Linked DNA regions of Homo sapiens: all the other regions are linked to region 1. The links are contacts of gene promoters, found by promoter capture Hi-C in blood cells and fetal thymus (Javierre and others, 2016). All regions are on one chromosome and are shown on one strand. Each heading gives the region's core, a stretch centred on a gene start or on the middle of the fragment in contact. The rest is flanking DNA. Distances are from core to core; before and after follow the strand shown.

Evidence for each region. Contacts are between HindIII fragments. The CHiCAGO score rates a contact against its expected background, and 5 or more counts as called.
Region 2: a contact is called between a fragment that was not itself captured here and the fragment with the promoter of CDX1 in region 1, in 1 of 17 cell types (endothelial precursors). The highest score is 5.6, in endothelial precursors.
Region 3: a contact is called between a fragment that was not itself captured here and the fragment with the promoter of CDX1 in region 1, in 4 of 17 cell types (megakaryocytes, endothelial precursors, M1 macrophages and 1 more). The highest score is 6.6, in megakaryocytes.
Region 4: a fragment that was not itself captured here is called in contact with the fragment with the promoter of CDX1 in region 1 in 1 of 17 cell types (megakaryocytes); the score reaches 5.1 in megakaryocytes.

The regions. Positions count from the first base shown.
Region 1 is chr5:150,164,377-150,168,597 of GRCh38, reverse strand. CDX1 (caudal type homeobox 1) reads right to left here and starts at 1,820. Exons shown (of 3, transcript NM_001804.3): 1 at 1,277-1,820. The coding sequence starts at 1,721. The HindIII fragment of the contact is 7,821 bases long and covers 1-4,221 here.
Region 2 is chr5:150,383,571-150,387,791 of GRCh38, reverse strand. All of the region lies in intron 17 of TCOF1 (treacle ribosome biogenesis factor 1), which reads right to left. Among named protein-coding and RNA genes, the nearest start is that of CD74, 27 kb to the left of the region's middle. The HindIII fragment of the contact is 2,085 bases long and covers 1,700-3,784 here.
Region 3 is chr5:150,331,873-150,336,093 of GRCh38, reverse strand. LOC105378225 (a long non-coding RNA gene) reads left to right here. Exons shown (of 3, transcript XR_944406.2): 3 at 997-1,212. Among named protein-coding and RNA genes, the nearest start is that of TCOF1, 24 kb to the left of the region's middle. The HindIII fragment of the contact is 3,533 bases long and covers 340-3,872 here.
Region 4 is chr5:150,004,436-150,008,656 of GRCh38, reverse strand. It overlaps HMGXB3 (HMG-box containing 3), which reads right to left. Exons shown (of 20, transcript NM_014983.3): 2 at 3,668-3,806; 3 at 2,010-2,184. The coding sequence starts at 3,804. Among named protein-coding and RNA genes, the nearest start is that of HMGXB3, 5.8 kb to the right of the region's middle. The HindIII fragment of the contact is 1,858 bases long and covers 935-2,792 here.

The DNA of each region.
Region 1 (4,221 bases), core at 571-3,070:
ACGATGATGTTTTAAGAGTTAAAGGAGTTAATGCATGCAAGATCTTACTTAGGTCATGCCTGGTCCGTTAGTTAAGTGTTCCAAAACATTAGCTGTTATTTAATCAAGGCCACAGAAGCAAGTGGCAGAGTCTGGTTCCCTGCATCTCCCTGGAGGCAGATAGGAGGTTATGTATCCCCGGGACTTCCAAAAAGGGGATATGATTATGGCCAGAACCCGTAGCTCCTGATCAAGGCCAACCCAGCATCTGCCCCGAGGCAAGCTGGGTGTGTGTGGGGAGATGGGGGTGAAGAGTGCGAGGAGGTGGGAGAAGTCCCAGGATTATTCGCAGCTGGGGTAAGGGGAGGAGGGGCTGGACATCAAAGGGTGGGCAGGCCAGCTTCCCGCCCCCAAGGCTAGGTGGCCTTTGTCAGGACAGGCCGGACACAGTCCGGACAATGGAACGTCGTGTTCACTTTCCGGCCAACAGGAGTCACTACCGAGCCAAGGCAGAGCCAGTTGCATGACAAAGGGGGGACCCATAACGGAGGTCAAGCCGCCCCTCATTAAAGTTGGGCCCTTTGTCCTGCCCCCTACCCTGCCTTTGAAGAGGGCGGATCAGAGAGGCCTGCCTGGGGGCAGGAGGTTCACAGGCTCAGGAGCCAAACAGTAGCCCCCCTTCCCACTGCTCCCGCTTCCCCTCCCCCGGGGTCAAGAGTTCAGGGAGGACCCTGAGAAGGTAAGGTACAGACCCCTTGCCCCAGTCTGGCCAAAGAGGGCTCTTTTTCAGCCTGAAGGATATGACCCAGCAATGTCTTGACTGTGTGATGGGGAGACCCAGCCCTGGCCAGGAAAGTCACCTGCCCTGTTCACACAGTTAGTTAATCGTCCCTTCTGGGGCGAACCTGCCGCCTTTGCCTAGGGCTGGGTTAGGAGTGGAAGAAGCAGATGAAGAGCACGGAGTCGGTGTTGCTAAATGAGTGTGGGACACGAGTCTGGGAGCCTGCGTTCTAGTTCGGGTCTTGCTCCGCGGCCGCAGGCGCATTTCCGCACTTCGCAGGGGGTCTCGGTTTCCCTATCTGTACAGAGAGAGGGTTAGGCTGTGCTGCTGAAGGCTCCGATAGCCTGAGACTGAGGAGAGGGAGCCAAAGAGCAGCCCCCCAGGGCGAGAGTGGACAGGAGGGCCACACTCCCGGGAACCCGAGCAGGGCCGGAGCAGAGGTCAGACAGGGGGCGGCCTGGGCCGCGCCCGAGCACCTGCAGGTCCAGAGGCGCAGGGCGAGGGAAGGGTCCTTACCGCTGCCACCGCCGCCTCCGGCCGCCACGCTGCGCCGCATCCACTCGTAGGGCGTCGGCCTCTGCGCTCCGGGCGAGGACGGTGTGCCCGGGCCCCCGAGGGGCTGCGCCAGGAGGCCCGGGCCGGGCCCAGGGGGCGCCGGCACCGGGCTAAAGTCTGGAGGGGGCCCGAATGCCAGCGAAGCTGGGCTGGCGGCAGGGGCCGCGGGGCCCGGGCCGTAGGCGGCGGCCCAGTCGTCCTTGGGCGCAGGGAAGGGCGCCCCCCAGGCCGTCGGGGGCGCGGGGGCCGGCTCCACGTGAGAGTAGCTGGAGAAGTCGGGGTACTGCGGGGGCGCCGGGGGCGGGGCCGGGGGGCCGTAGGCTTGCGGGCCCAGGCCGAGGCTGGCTGGCCTGGCTGGGCCGGGGTACACGGGCGAATCCTTGTCCAGCACATAGCCCACATACATGGTGGCCGCGGGGTCCCCCGCGCATGCTGGGCCCTGGAGCCGCCGCTGCCGGCCGCCCCGACGACGAGCAACCGCTCACCTGAACTCGGCTGTCCTGCCGCCGCGCCCGCCCCACCCAGGCCTTTTATAGCTCCGGGCCGCCCGCGGCCCCAGCCGAGGCGGGTTTGCATTTCAAAGCGGGGGGAAGCCTCCGGGCCGCGAATCAAAGGGGGAAACCCGTCGGGGGCGGGGGGTTCAAAAGGAGACAAATTGCCGCCCCAAGCGGGAGGTGGACTGGCCAGGGCCTGGAGGGGGTGGGGGCGCGGAGGGCGCGTCTTGGGCGAGGGTCGAGGCCGCGCTGCGAGTGGGAATCGCTTGCCAGGGAGCGGCCTAGCGGCCTGAACACCTTGTCCTTCCGGTGGCCGCGTGGACGGCCCTGCAGCCCCATTTTACAGGCGGAGGAACAAGCTCCCAGGGGCCGGGGGATTCTAGGCCAACTTCACACAGTGACCAGCTTGAGGTGAGGGGCAACGCAGACTTCAAACAGGGCTCCGGTCTGTAGGATCGCAGGTCCTTAATCTTTTGGCGGGGAGGGGTCACGACCCCTCTCGTCATGGAAGCTGTGGATGTTTTTCCCTGGGGAAATGCACATATGCACATACATACACGAGTCTTCCTTACAGTTGGGGGACTGCCTGGGTTGGCCTTCTAGAGAAAGTTCTCAAAAGGCAGTGTGTGTGTGGGTGTGTGTGTGTGTGAGTTAGGGGGGTCTTCTGGGGACATTACAGGAAACTTTTAGTAAATTATCTTGATGACTCTCTACCCTCTTTTTTTAATTGAGAGGTTTCAAGCATACACAAAAGTAGAATTGTATAATGAACTGCTGTGTACCCATCACCCCGCTTCAACAACTATTAAGGTTTTGTCACACTTATTTCACCTACTCCCCGCTTTTCTGAAGTATTTTAAAACAAATTCCAGACATCATGTCATTTTACCCCTACATACTTCAGCACGCATCTCTAAAACACATGGACATTTTCTTACATAATATGCCATTATCACATCTAGCAAAATTAACACAAATTCCTGGGTATTACCTAACACACAGTTCGTATTCAAAGTACTCCAATTGATTCAAAAATGTCTTTTTAGCAGTCTGTTTGTGTGAATCGGGATCCAAAAGCCCTGATCCATTTATTATGGCTGGAGCCCCCTTGGGATTTTAAATGCATCACGTGTTCCTCCACTCCATATGAAGGACTGGCAAACATTTCATAGCTACCTAAGGGGGAGTGGGGGCTGGGAACACTTGAGGGGGTGTCAGTGAACTGGGAGTGGGGACAAGGCTGAGGGATTTGGGGAAGGGTGCATGAAGGACAGGGCTCTGGGTCAGGAAGTCAGATGGGGTCCCTCCGCACAAGGGCTTTGTGCCAGGGAGCTGTGCAGAAGCACCCTGTGGGATTGGATGGGCCCACATTTCCTGGGTTCCTCTCATTGTGCAGGGATGTGTGGTCCCCAGAAGAAGGTCAGAATCAGGGTCTTATCTGTTCAACCCGTCTCTCTCTTGGGTCACCATATTAGCCGGGGGCTGGTCAGTATCATCTCAGGGCTGGGCAGATGTTTCGGGATCAGGACATAATTTGCAGGGCCGGGAGCAAAATAAAAAATATAAGGTCCCTTGTTCAAAAATGATTAAGGATTTCAGGATGGTGGCAGCAGAGCATTCACCTGAGCCCGGGGCCCTTCCACACACTGGGCTCTGTGTGACTGCAATGGTGACCCGCCTGGGAAGCTGGCCCTGGTGAGACTCTTGCTCTTCTGGGGCTCTGATATGTGATAGAGCCAGAGACTCAGCCAGCACAGGGCTCCCTCCGCTTCCTGCTCAGAGGAACCCTTTCCATTGCACAGGTAGAAGCATTGAGGCTCAGAAAGGAAAGGAGTAATGCCCAGTGTTTGCTGCAACATGAAGGCTGCTTGTAGGAGAGGGGAAGGGAAATCCTGGCTGTTGCTGACCGGGCGGAGCCCTTGGCTACCTTGCAGGAGCACATGGCTGTCCACATGTGTGTGGATCAGCACATGACACAGATGAGCACATGGCTGCCTCAGCAGGGAAGATCCCACTTTCCCAGGTCAGGAAGTGGATGCGGTGCTGAAATGTTTCTCTGGAGCTCTGGGCTCTGCTTAGGACTCAAGTTTTCAAGGGATTGGTGGGAAACTGGCAAGTACACAGAGGAGGGAGAAGAGGCCCAAGAGGACTGAACTCCACTTTCTGAGCTGAGAGAACTGGGACTGCTTGGACTGAAGGAAGAGAAAACCTGGAGTGGGGTCTGAGTCTGGGGAGGAAGACAGGGCAGACTTGGGACCTCAGGGAGGAAACTGCAGGCTACAGATGTGGATTTCAGCCCACCCATACGTAAGAAAGTGCTCTGTAAGGGGCCATCTGTCAGGAAATGGGCTGTCATGAGAGAGAGTGAGCTCATGATCACAGGAGGTATGTAAGTGAGTGCTGGAGGTCAGT
Region 2 (4,221 bases), core at 1,493-3,992, 220 kb before region 1:
GGCAGCTGGGCACAGAAGCCATTCCAGCTGCCCAGGGTGCCCCCTCCCACCCCACACATCTGCTAAGACCCAGCACAGCACTTCACAACTCCCAGAGCCCACCTGACCCTCACAGTGAAGCCCTACATTCAGCAGGATCAGCTCCCTTATACAAAGTGGGAAAACCACAAGCCCAGAGGGAAAGGGAGCGACCCAAGGCTGCTGTCCCTACTGGAAGCAAAGCCACGGCCAGAATGTCCAATTCTGCCTTCTTTCCCCGGCTGGCTTCAGAAACAGTTACTTGCTGAATGCAGGGAGTGGTCTAAGCAGTTTTCCAAGGCTGCCTGGTTGGAATATGCAATTCACCTGGGGAGGTATTTACAGTCTAGTTGCCCCAACCCCAGAGGTTCTGATGCAGCCCTCCTGATACATGGCCCAGGATGAAACTCCCCAGCTATACCAATTCAGTTTCTTCAACAAAAAAATGCACAAGAGAAACAAGGGTTGGGTGAGTGGGTGAGAACCAACAGATTAAGACTTAGAGGATTAATAACTCAATGCCGTACGTGGCCTTTAACTGAACTCCATGAGACAATCAGGGAAATAGGGACACTGACTGGGTAGATCAACTTATTAGGTGTGACACTGTATCGTAGTTGTGCTTAAAAAGGTCCTTATAACTGAGAGCTGCATACTGAAATCCTGGTGGATGAGCTGACATGTCTGAGACTGGCTGCAAAGTAATCCAGGGGCGTTGGGGAACTGAGTGGAGGGTTTGCGTGAAACGAGCCTGCTCAGGAGTTCCTAACTGTTGAGGCTGGGGATGGTACGTGGGGGTTCTTTACATTATCTATCTTTGGGTATGCTTTAAATTTTCCAAGGAAACAATAAAAGAAAAAGCAAACAAGCAACAGCAGCTCCCTGGTATTCTGCAGGCCAGTCTGGTTTTGAACTGCACCATCCCTGAACATGTTCACCGCACACGAGGGCATCTCCAGGCCCATTTCCTTCCTGAACCTCCAGCTAACGAGAACACACATGGTTGTGAGCCAGGGAGCTGGTCAGGTCTACTTTCCATTCCCCAAATGTCAGATCTGGTTTGAGCTCTGCTCCCTCTCTGGCCAGTGAAGAGCTGGAGGGCAGGAAGAGGGAGCTGCCTGAGGCTAAGAGAGGAGTGGAATCAGGTCCAGACTGGTCTCTGTTTCACCATCCTGTTTACCCCCTGAGCCTGACTTAGCACACCTGGCTCCTCAGGGTGCTAAGGTGCTGTGGAGAGGCATAAAGTAAAAAGTAAAACAGAAAGGTGCCTGCCTGAGGGTGGAAGCTTCTCTGGGCTTAGGCCTTTCCTACCCCTGCCAAATAGCCTCCCCCGCGGCTGCTCCGATCTGCCACTTCCAGAGCCTTCCTTCCCACGATATAAAAAAGAGAAGGATGGAAAGTGGGAGAAGGCTTACAGTTGAGGGAGGGGGGATCTATATATATGTGAAGACAGGAACAGATTGTCGGGGACGAAGAGAAGCAACGAACCCACTGAGGCAAACAATAGCGTCTTGGGATGTTAAAAGCAGCTCAGCAGCAAAAGCCTCCTGTTAGTTCCACCTGCCCACGCCACCCCACTGGGCCTCTGGGCCGTAGGAGGGAGGTGGTGCAGGGGGCTTGGCTGTGGGGGGTTGGGGCGGGGCATTAGCCTGTAGAGTTCATAAAGGTGGGCAGTGAAGCTTGCCCAGGGTATAGGAGAAGACCTGCTTCTCATTACGCCTCTCTCATGACTTCACTGTGTGGTCAAGCCCCTCAACTTTCTGATCCTCAGTTTCCCGTTTAATGAAACGGCTAGTAGTTATCCCAGCCTGGGCTCATTCACTGGAGGGGTTCCAATGCACTGTGGAAACTGGAAAGCACAGTATACACAGGAATGTAGTTCTGGGGTCAGTTAGAAAAAAAACTGATGGGAGTGAAGCAGCAAAACCAGCACTGGCCTGAACATTTGGTTGTACCTCCCTATAGGTGCTGGGCAGTAAGGACCCAGAGGGAACCCTGGGATACCCCTCCTACCTGTAGGTCTGATGCCTGCAGAACCAAACCTAGGGGCTTTCTGGACAGTGCTCACCCCATCCTGTCAAAGCTGAGCTCATTCTAACTGTGCCTTCATTCCAGCAAGTCACAGAGTGGGGAGAGGGGGCTGATGGCCTAGGCTGCGGACCCTGGCAAGGGACATGACCACAAAGGCAACAAACACTCCAAGAACCTCTCTCAGAATTGCCTGAGGCTGCTTAACAGATCTAGGCCAGCCCCACTCCAGGGGACTGAGAAATTCTACTCTCTGGGGATGTGGCCTGGAGCCTCAAGGTCCACCCCACCAACCCAGGAAGTCTCATCCCAGAGATTGAGATGAATGAGGCTCAGAGAAGGCAAGTGGCCTCACCCAGGGCAACCAGCAAACTGGTGCCAGAGCCAGGATTAGAAGTTAGTTCTCCAGGCACCAGACTGGAGCTCCTTCTAGAACCAATTATGCTAGGCCTCAATGTAACACCAGAATTTAGTTTCTTACAGGTTTCCTTTTTCTTTGATTCAACCTAAAACTTTGAGAGCAGGGCCTACGTCTTTGACAAACTAATAGAAGAAGTTGGCCTTAAAAAATATTACCGACAAGTGAAACTGCATATATTTGTGGTATATAACATGATGTTTTGATACACATATACATTGTGGAATAGCTAAATTAAGTTATTTAACATATGTATCACCTACTTGTTTTTAAATCTGGAAGCTGTCCTGACCCCAGCACAGACTCTGGCCTGAGGTCTACTCTGCACAACAGGGCGGAGGCACAGTGAGGGGTCTAGGAATGGAGCCAAGGTATCTATCCCTGCCTCCCAGCCTGGGACTCTGCCCACCACCCTGGCCTCAATCCCTTTCCCCACTGATGGGCTAATAAAATCAGACTGAAACTTGTCAATAGAGAGGTGCTCAATAAATGTACAATAATGAAAATAATCATAATTAGTGAGCTGGGGATTAGGAACTAAAAATCTCTCAATCAGGAAGAGGCTGCAGCTTCCCCGGGCTATGCCCGTCTTCCCCGAATCCTCCTGGGGGAATGTACAAACCGCTGACTTCTTTTCTGCTTTTTAAATAGACTCCAGAATCTTCAGGACTAACATACCAATTAAATGGTTCAGTTTAAGCAGGATGTTCATTTTAATTGTGTTAGTCCACCCCCACAGAGAAAGGGGGAGCGGTCCCCTCCCTCCCAGTTGTTTAGATCCCTCAGAGAGGCAGGTGGCCTCGTAAAGGCTCCACACAGAGCCAGAGGGCAATGCCCAAGCCCAGGAGAGGAGAGTGTCGGGGCAGCACCAGGCAACGGGTCAGAATGTGAATGGCCTGTGCTCAAACACCAGGTCTGTCCACTTGTCATCAGCCATGTGATGCTGGGACAGGTCCCTCAACTTCTCTGAGCCTCACTCCCAGTTCCTTAAAATGCAAACAACAAAGGGAGCCACCCTCATAGGGCTGTTGTGGAGATTAAACAGAAAAATGAGAATACAGGGAGTTACCGATGTTGGTGGTGGTTGTTCTTTACTTTTGTAATCTGTGCCATTGGAAAGTGAGAGGCAGTGAGCACCCTATTGCTGGAGGTGTGCAAACAGCATCTGACCTTACTGATGAATTGATAACAATGTGGTATGTGATATTCAAGGGGAGGTGGTTCATGAGACCGCTCTGGTCTGGAGGTTGCAGAACTCCAGGATCTGTGGTTAGGCCCTGGGACAGGGGAGCTGGTGCTCTGAGGTGCCTGGCAGAAGCTTCTGGGAGCTTGGGGCTAGAGGAGGACAAAGGGTAATGCTGTCTGATGGAAGGGCCAGGGTTCACACAGAAGCTTGGACCACACCAGCATGGCTGACTTGGGCCTCTGGAGTACAGGAAGATAAGGTGGGCCTGGTCCCACCCTTGGAGGTGTAGCCTGAGCAGGACTGTGGCTTAAGCTCTGGGTGCAGTGGAGCACATGAAGGTATGCCACAGGTGCTTGAGAGAGGGTCCTGGGCAGAGCTCATGGGATTCAAGAAGACTCCTGGTCCTAAACAGAAAACAGAGAGATACAGGGAGCCAGGGGACCAGCGTTTGGACCTTTCCTCAGCCTCTTATGAATCATGAGAATTTGGGGAAACTGCTTCAACTCTAAGGCTTGATTCCCAATCTGTCAAATGGGGCAACACTCCCTGCCCTTCTCACAGTTAACAGGCA
Region 3 (4,221 bases), core at 857-3,356, 170 kb before region 1:
GTCTCATCCCCACAGGGGCCCTTCTTGATTCCTTGCCTGTCTACATCTAATCATGGAGGTTGTGGATTCTCAGCCTGGTCTCTGTTTGTTATGAAGAGATGATTTAATTCATAAACAATTCCCCAGTGATTTAAGAGGCTCTGCTTGTTTATGTTTTGAAGCTTATGAGTTTAGCCTTCTGAAACAGCATAAAAAATTGCTTCGTCTAGCAGAAGAGACAGAGAAGGTGGCTCATGGCTTATTTCACCCAAGCTTCCCCGTGACCCCTTCTCTCTGATCAAGACCTCTCAGGTCCTGGGGCCATCGATCCCAAAGTGTCTCTAGCCTCTCCTACAAGCTTGTATGGTGCCCTGGTTCAAGAATTCAAGTTAGGGATTTGCTCCAGACTTGCCCGACTTCTGCTTACAGGTTTATCTAAATCAATAGTTCTTAACCTTGATTAAGAACTGTGATGAGTTCTGTGAGATGAACTTGAAGGCCTGTGATCACCTGGCAATTGTATGTAAGATTTGGTGCATTTGGTATGGTAGGAGTGGGGGGAGGCCAATAATTGTCTCAATTTCTCAGTGGGGTCTATGACTTCTAAGAGAACTTTCTTGCCTTTTACTGGTCTCTCCTGCCTCTGAACTTTCAGGACCCACATCTGTTTCTCTCATCGTATTCAAGTTGCTTGGGTTATATCTTTGCTAGGCTGTAAGCTCTGTCCAAGTCAGGATGATAGCCAGTGCCATTCACACCAGAGCTTCTGCCCTTTCAAGTGTGAGGCCCTTATGCAAAGTTGATTAACCTCCTGTCTCCAACATACACAAAAGGAATCGTAATTTTGTATATTATTTACAGATAATGGTTGATGCATAGACTACTTCCCAGACCTCTTAAAAAAATTCTAGTCCCTCTGCTCTGGGAATCTGTAGCTCACAGGTTAAGATGTTGATCATAGATAATAAGAAAGGAAACATCCTTAGATATTAACAAGTCCAACACTCCATTTTGCAGATGAGGATGCTAAAGCCTAGAGGAGAGAAGTGATTTGCCCAAGATCACACAGAGAGTTCCTATCAGAGCTGGGGCTGGAAACCAAGTATTCGGATTCCTCAAATTCCATGCCTGTCCTTCACACTCTTTGTAGCCCCAGCTACACAGATATTCTCAAGTAGAAAAGTTAACTATTGGGTACTGAGCTTAATACCTGGGTGACGAAATAATCTCTACAACAAACTCCCATGACACAAGTTTACCCATGTAACAAACAGCCACATGTAGCCCCAAAACTAAAATAAAAGTTAAAAAAAAGAAGTGTTTGTGGAATCAATGATTGAATACTAGGCAGGGTGAAAAGCTATTAAAAAGCCTGAATATGCCCATAGCTTTGAAGTTTTTGGCTGGGCGCGATGGCTCATGCCTGTAATCCCAGCACTTTGGGAAGCCAAGGCAGGCAGATCACGTGAGGTCAGGAGTTCGAGAACAGCCTGGCCAAAATGGCAAAACCCCATCTCTACTAAAAATATAAAAATTAGCCAGGTTTGGTGGTATGTGCTTGTAATCCCAGCTACTTGGGAGGCTAAGGCACGAGAATTGCTTGAACCCGGAAGGTGAAGATTGCAGTGAGCTGAGATTGTACCACTGCCTGCCAGCCTGGGCAACAGAGCAAGACTCTGTCTCAAAAAAAAAAAAAGTGAGTTTTCTCTAGATAACTAAAATAAGTTAATAGAGCCTTGTTCTCCTCTCTGCCCCCAGCCCCAAGCTCAGGCTAATGCTGCAGTTTGAGCCTGGAGGAAAAGAAAGAGGGGGCTTCTCTCCTTGGAGTTTAAAATCAAGGAGCGTTAACTTGATTGCATTTGACTTCAACTTCAGTTTTCTAATAAGAATGCTTATCATACAGTTCAAGCATACATATATTTATTTGATCATTATTTGTTGAGCAAATTTTATGCATTGACCACCCTGCAGATGTGAGGGTTAGTAAATCACACATGGCCTCTGTCCTCTGGTTGCCTACAGTTTATGGGATAAAGGCTATACACATGGGTCATGGAGCTGATTGTCCCCATTCTCCTGATTCCAAGTTTGACAGGGTCTTCATTGAGCAGTTGACTCTAAGCAGTCAGGGTCATTTCCTTTTCATGGTGGGCACTACTGCATATGTCATTCCCAATGCCACGACTGGAAGGAGCTTGGAGGTCATGCAGTTCAATCCCTTTATTTTGTATGGGGAAACTGAGGTCCAGAGCAGCCAATCAGAGAATCTGGGGCCGAGCCAGGACTATTACTATTACCTGGGTTTTGGAGGTTGGTTCTGAGGGCTGGATCAAGCCATAGGGAGAGAGGAGGACATCGTAGGGGAAGGCAAGAGCAAGAGCAACAGCAAAGGCCTGGAGATGGGACTCTGTGTGGGGTGAAGGGAGCAGGGGAAAGGCAGCCCTGGTTTTTCATATATTGTTCTGGAGTCAGACAAAGAAAGGCTGTCTTCAATGTGAGGCCGATGTCACTATCACAGAGAAGTCATCAGGCCAGCTTCAGAAGCTGAGCCCAGGCCAAGGACTGATGCTGCCCTCAGGCACTAAGGCGCCTGGCAGGAAGGAAAAAGAAATATTGTTATCAAATATACGGACTACTTCTGTGTATGAAAACGTTTCTATATGTTGCCCCTGTCAATGAGAAAATTGTTGCTCATCTCACCCTTTCTCAAAGAATCGTGAAGACCAAATAATAATTATTGTTATAATGATAATAGCAGCAGCCATTTATTTGAGTGAAACCACGTGCTGAAGATAGAGTTGTGAGCCAGCAAGCATTCTTATACCCCTACTCCTTGCAGAGATAGTCAGAGCCAGTATGTGCACCGATTGTACAGAGAGGATGTTGCCCTGCAGAGGAAAAGGGCCTTGCTCAAGGTCACACAGTGGGCCAGCAGCAGGTGGGATTAGAACCTGGGTCCTCCTGCCCACATGTCAAGGCCTGGCCTGATACCACCCTGGCTCTGCAGCCAGCCCCAGAGAGGATGAGTCCAGCCTTGACCCTCCCGGGGTATGCTGAGCTCTTCCAACAGGCTTTTCCTGTAGACCCCCACTCCCGGCTCTGGAGGCCAGCACCCCCAGAGCTGTGTCTGCTCTCTCTGCCCCACAAGCAAAAGCATCACTTGCAGGCCCAGCTGTCACCAGACCTGCACTAAAGAAAGTGTATTTCTGTCCAGCTGAGTCCTGTTGGCAGCTCCAGAACCACTGACATCTCTAACAATCTCCAGGTGATAGGCTTGTGGGGTTTTAGTCTGCCTCTTCTTATCCGGGGAAGACCATGAGAGGGAAGCCCCAGGCCTGAATCTGAGGGACTGCTTTTGCAATAATGCAAAGCTCTTCCTAGCTCAGAAGAGAAGAAACCAAATGGACTCTCTGGACAATATTCGTGTGGCCTGAGAGGTGATAGTTTAGGTTCCTTTACCATGTGGCAGAACAAGGAGTTTTACACTAGGTGAACCTACTGAAGGGACATGCCCCACAGTGAACCTAGGTGATGCCCAGGTACAGCACTGAACAACGTGGAACCACTTACTGAGAAAGAGATGAAAAGTTCAGTTATATTTTCAATCCTTCTCATTATACCATTTCAATTCGATGCTAACGTGTCTTTAATACCTCTCTAAACCTTGCTAATATATATATACACGTATGTATATTAAAACATTTTTTTAAAGAGCAAGCCTTGGACTTGCAGCCTTTGGCAAGCAACAATATCTAGTTAGAATTTAATAGCATTGTTTTTATTGTATTTATTTTTACTTTTAGCTCTTATTTATGGCAGGTGAGACTGGTTTTCCATTTGCAATAGTGATATAAAGTTTCCATTTTAAAGACACTTATTTAAGTTAGAAAGCTTCTATTTAAAGAAAAAATACTAAATGAATAATAATACAGGTGGTATGCAGACGCAGTCTATGTGCTAAAGGTGGTACGGGAACAAGTAAAATCTGGGAAACTCTGACATATGCAATCATGGAATGAAAAAGTCATATACTCTGAGAATCAAAGACCATTGAATTTCAGAAGCTGATGCTTCTAGGATCCCAGAACACAGCATCTTAGCACCATAAATCCTAAAACGAACAATATAATCTATGAGATGCCTTAAAACATAGTCTCTCACAAAATATTAGCATGTGGGAGAGAAAGCCTTGAAGCCATCTGTCAGTTCAATTCCCTCATTTTGATGTGAAGAAACTGAGGC
Region 4 (4,221 bases), core at 614-3,113, 160 kb after region 1:
ACCTGAAGGGCTGCTAAGGAGGACAGCCTGCCACAGGGCTCTGACAGGCTCCCAAGGTATGTGGGCATTGAGGGTCTTCCCATCACACCAGGCAGTCTGGGAGAGGTCAAACACAGCACATAAAGCTTCACTCAGTCTTACTACATTCCAGGTACTCAATAAATGCCACTTTTCCTTATTATATAGTCAATGAATGTTTAATCTACTAAAGGGTAATATTTATTATGTCAGTATTATCAAGAATTCAGCTAGGTGATTTACATTACCTATTTTAAACATTATGAGAAGAGACTACTGCCATTTTACAGATGAGGAAACCAAGACTCAAAAGTTAAAATGGTCACTCAGCTATTATCAGAACTAACCTACTCATGTTCTTGGTGGCAGTGGTAGAGATAGTGGTAGATAGAAATAAGCATGTAAATAAGGAAGAATCATTGCAGATGATTTAAATTTTTTTAAAGTCTTGATAATGATCTACATTAGTGTGTAGTTTTAAAAATCAAATCACTCCAGGATTACGTAGGATTTTATCATGCACAAAAAGATTGCTGATTTGTGTGTGTGTGTGTGTGTGTGTGTGTGTGTGTGTGTGTGTGTGAAACAGAGTCTCACTCTGTTGCCCAGGCTAGAGTGCAGTGGCACAATCACGGCTCACTGCAACCTCCACTTCCCCGGCTCAAGTGATCCTCCCACATCAGCTTCCTGAGTGGCTGGGACTACAGGTGTATGCCACCACGCCTGGCTAATCTTTTCCTATTTTTTGTAGAGATAGAGTTTCGCCAACTTGCCCAGGCTAGTCTTAAACTCCTGGGCTCAAGTGATCCTCCCACCTCAGCCTCCTAAAGTGCTGGGATTACGGGCATGAGCTACCACACCCAGCCTAGACAGCTGATTTTATTATAATAAGGAAACCAAAGGGAGTAGATAAGCTTTTCTTAGACTCCATCTCCACTCCACTATAGGGATTATTTCCCAGATTCACTGTTAATAAACAAATCACCTAGAGGAGGGAGCAGAGAGTAGCATCTCCAAGCCTGTAGGTAAGACAAAGCTCTCCCAGAAAGAAGAATGCCAGGCCAATAAGCACAAAATAATTTAAATGGCAGTAGCTGATGAGCTCCAATAAGGGAAAATACAACCTGTTCTGCTATAACGTAGTTGTTGCTGTTGCTCTACATTACCAAAATAGAAGTTACAGACAACTGTTTCTATTGAAATAAGGAGTTAAGGATAAAAGGTTCCAGCCTGCAACAGCAAGGTTATTCTTCCTGCAGGAATTTCAGTTTAAAAAAACAGCAGTTTATGCCATGACAGGGATACTCTCAAAAAAACAAAAACCCAGCAGTTTAAATAGCTGTCAGTGTATTTTGTTACTGTGAACTAGAAATAAGAAAATGCTGACAGACATAATTCTAAATGCTTCCTTGTTAGTCCTTTAACCCAAGCACCCAAAGCCTTGGTCTCCTCCACCATCTTTGGCTTTACTTGCATTTTTGCTTTCAGCATAGTTTCCAACCACCAGTGCTAACAAAATAATGTGGTACTGTATTACACAAGCAGCTCTATCTACCTCTAAACATGCAAACCTTATTCCTGATTATAACTGATAGCAGTTAGTACAATATACTACATTCAATCTGTAATATGAAAACTCATGGCGTAGGAGAAATGCCTATATAAACTACTATATTAAAGTTTACTACATTAAAGCTACTATTTATAGTAACTATGAGGGGCTCCAAGTTACACTAAAATTTAGAAAAGGAACCTAAGGCTCACTGCAGAAAACACAAAAAAATGTCAGCTCCACGTATTGCTGCAACCGAAGAGGACAAGAGAGTGCAGGGCATTATCAAAATGGAAACAAGCAAGCCCAGAGTCAAGAAGGATAAAACGATGAAACTTTTCCCAAAAAAAGAAAAGGAAACAGAACAAGGGGCTTGGTTTTCCCAAGGCCTTCATCACTGAACCAGTGGAAAAAATAGCTGGAAAAAAAAATTACTTACAGGATCCAAACCTTCCTTCTCTAGTTTGGCTTTCTCCAAGTAGTAACTCCTCTCGGCCACGCTGAGAAGCCTCCAACTCTCACTAATCTTCTTATTGATCTCAGACTGAGGGAGGTGGGGGAGCTCCTGCTGCACTTTCAGGTAGATGTCGTAATAGTACAGAAGGTAAGCAGACCTGAGGAAGCAATGACTTCTTCAGGCTTTCCCAGTAATGGCAATGCTGGCAGAAATCCCTCCACTTCCCACTCCCCATCCCTCGACCCAGGACTTCATTCAACCAGTAAGTACTACTATGCTAAGATATGGGTAGTCAAGAGGTTGATAAAACCTAGCTTCTCATTTCTAAGCATTTATCTAAATAGGGACTGAAAGTCAAGCAAACAAACATTTAAATAACATCCTCAGATGGTGTTATAATAAGTTATAATCTTATTCCTGATTATAACTGATAGCTGTCAGTACAACACAAATTATATTACATTCAATTTGTAATATAAAAACTCATGGTATAGGAGAAATGCTTATATAAGCTACCATATTAAAGTTACTACATTAGAGCCACTATATTACAGTCAGGAGTAACTACCCAGGAAGATAAGGGGCTCCAAGGGAGGAGGGGAAAATGAATGGTAAAGATAGCAAGTGGCTGTTTCCCCTTCAGAAACCTGGAAGCAAAGGCTCATTTGACTGGCTTTCCTAAAGATCGCTTTTTGTGCAGGAATGATTTTAAAGCAAAGATAGATACAGGTGTCCTGTCCTGTCATTCCACTCTCAGGGAAAGCTTCCTCAAGGGGCTGGTTATCACTCACACTCCGTGCTCCTCTACGCAGCCTTTGGTCACCAACCTGGTCAATGGCACCTCCCCAAGGATGAGAGAGGGAAGCAAGCAGACCAATCAAAATGACCAATGCTGGTAGTTTCACAAGTTTGAGGTATTCACAGTCAAGAGTGAAGTTAGAGCTACAATTTGGATATTCTGTACAGATATAATTGGTATTATTTCTTTTTGTGTGTTTTTTTTCTTTTTCTTTTCTTTTTTTTTTTTTTTTGAGAGGAGTTTCGTTCTTGTTGGCCAAGCTGTAGTGCAATGGCACAATCTTGGCTCACCGCAACCTCCGCCTCCCAGATTCAAGTGATTCTCTTGCCTCAGCCTCCCAAGCAGCTGGGATTACAGGTGTGCGCCACCACGCCCGGCTAATTTTGTATTTTTAGTAGAGACGGGGTTTCTCCACGTTGGTCAGGCTGGTCTCGAACTCCTGACCTCAGGTGATCCACCCGTCTCAGCCTTCCAAACTGCTGGGATTACAGGCATGAGCCATCACGCCCAGCCTTATTTCTAATTTTGTAATTTTATTAATGCTTTGTTTTAAATGTTTAAATAACAACAATGGCATAATAATAAATAATGTAGCTCTTTTGTACCTAGCTTCTACCATCAGTATGGTACAATTTCCTGTGACAACTTGAAAACAAAAGCAAAGTCTGGCCAGTAATGGCAATGCTGGCAGAAATCCCTCCACTTCCCACTCCTCATCCCTCGACACAGGACTTCAATCATAACACTCTTTTTCAAAGAGTCTTAAAAGTTTTCCTCAATGCAGCTCTCCAAGCAACTTCTGTTTATAAATGCTAGCAGCAACCAAAATGTGTTGGCTAACCTGGGTTTCTTTGTCTTTTCTCCATGTATTTTATACTTTTTCTTCTTCTTGGGTGGCCCAGGAGAGGTGTAACAATAGGCTTCCTCAATTTCCTCCATCACGACAGTTACCTCAGTACCATCATATGATGCGTCCATGGCTAAAGGAAAGGAAAGTCAAAATAAAGTTTCCAGAATCTCCCCTAAGAGGGGCAGCAGCTTCCTGATCAAATAACCCCTTACCTCTGCCAGTGCCTTAAGGCTTAGACATTTCCCAAACCCAATATATCCTAAGAAGCACCTGGCTTGGTTGTTTAACACACAAGATTCCAGAGCTCCACTTCAGCCCTCCTGGAGCAGAATCTCCCGAGGGTATGGAAATCCACATGCTTAACAAATGCCTCAGGTGATTCCTCAGACCGGGCAAGTTTGTGACCACTGCCTTAGAAATACTTTTCACTTATATTCATGGGATACAGTACCCACCCACCCCTTTAACACAAAGATTTATTAGCCCCAAATTATAACAATTCTATATGGAAACAGGTTAAAAAAAAATGCTTGGCCAGGAATCAG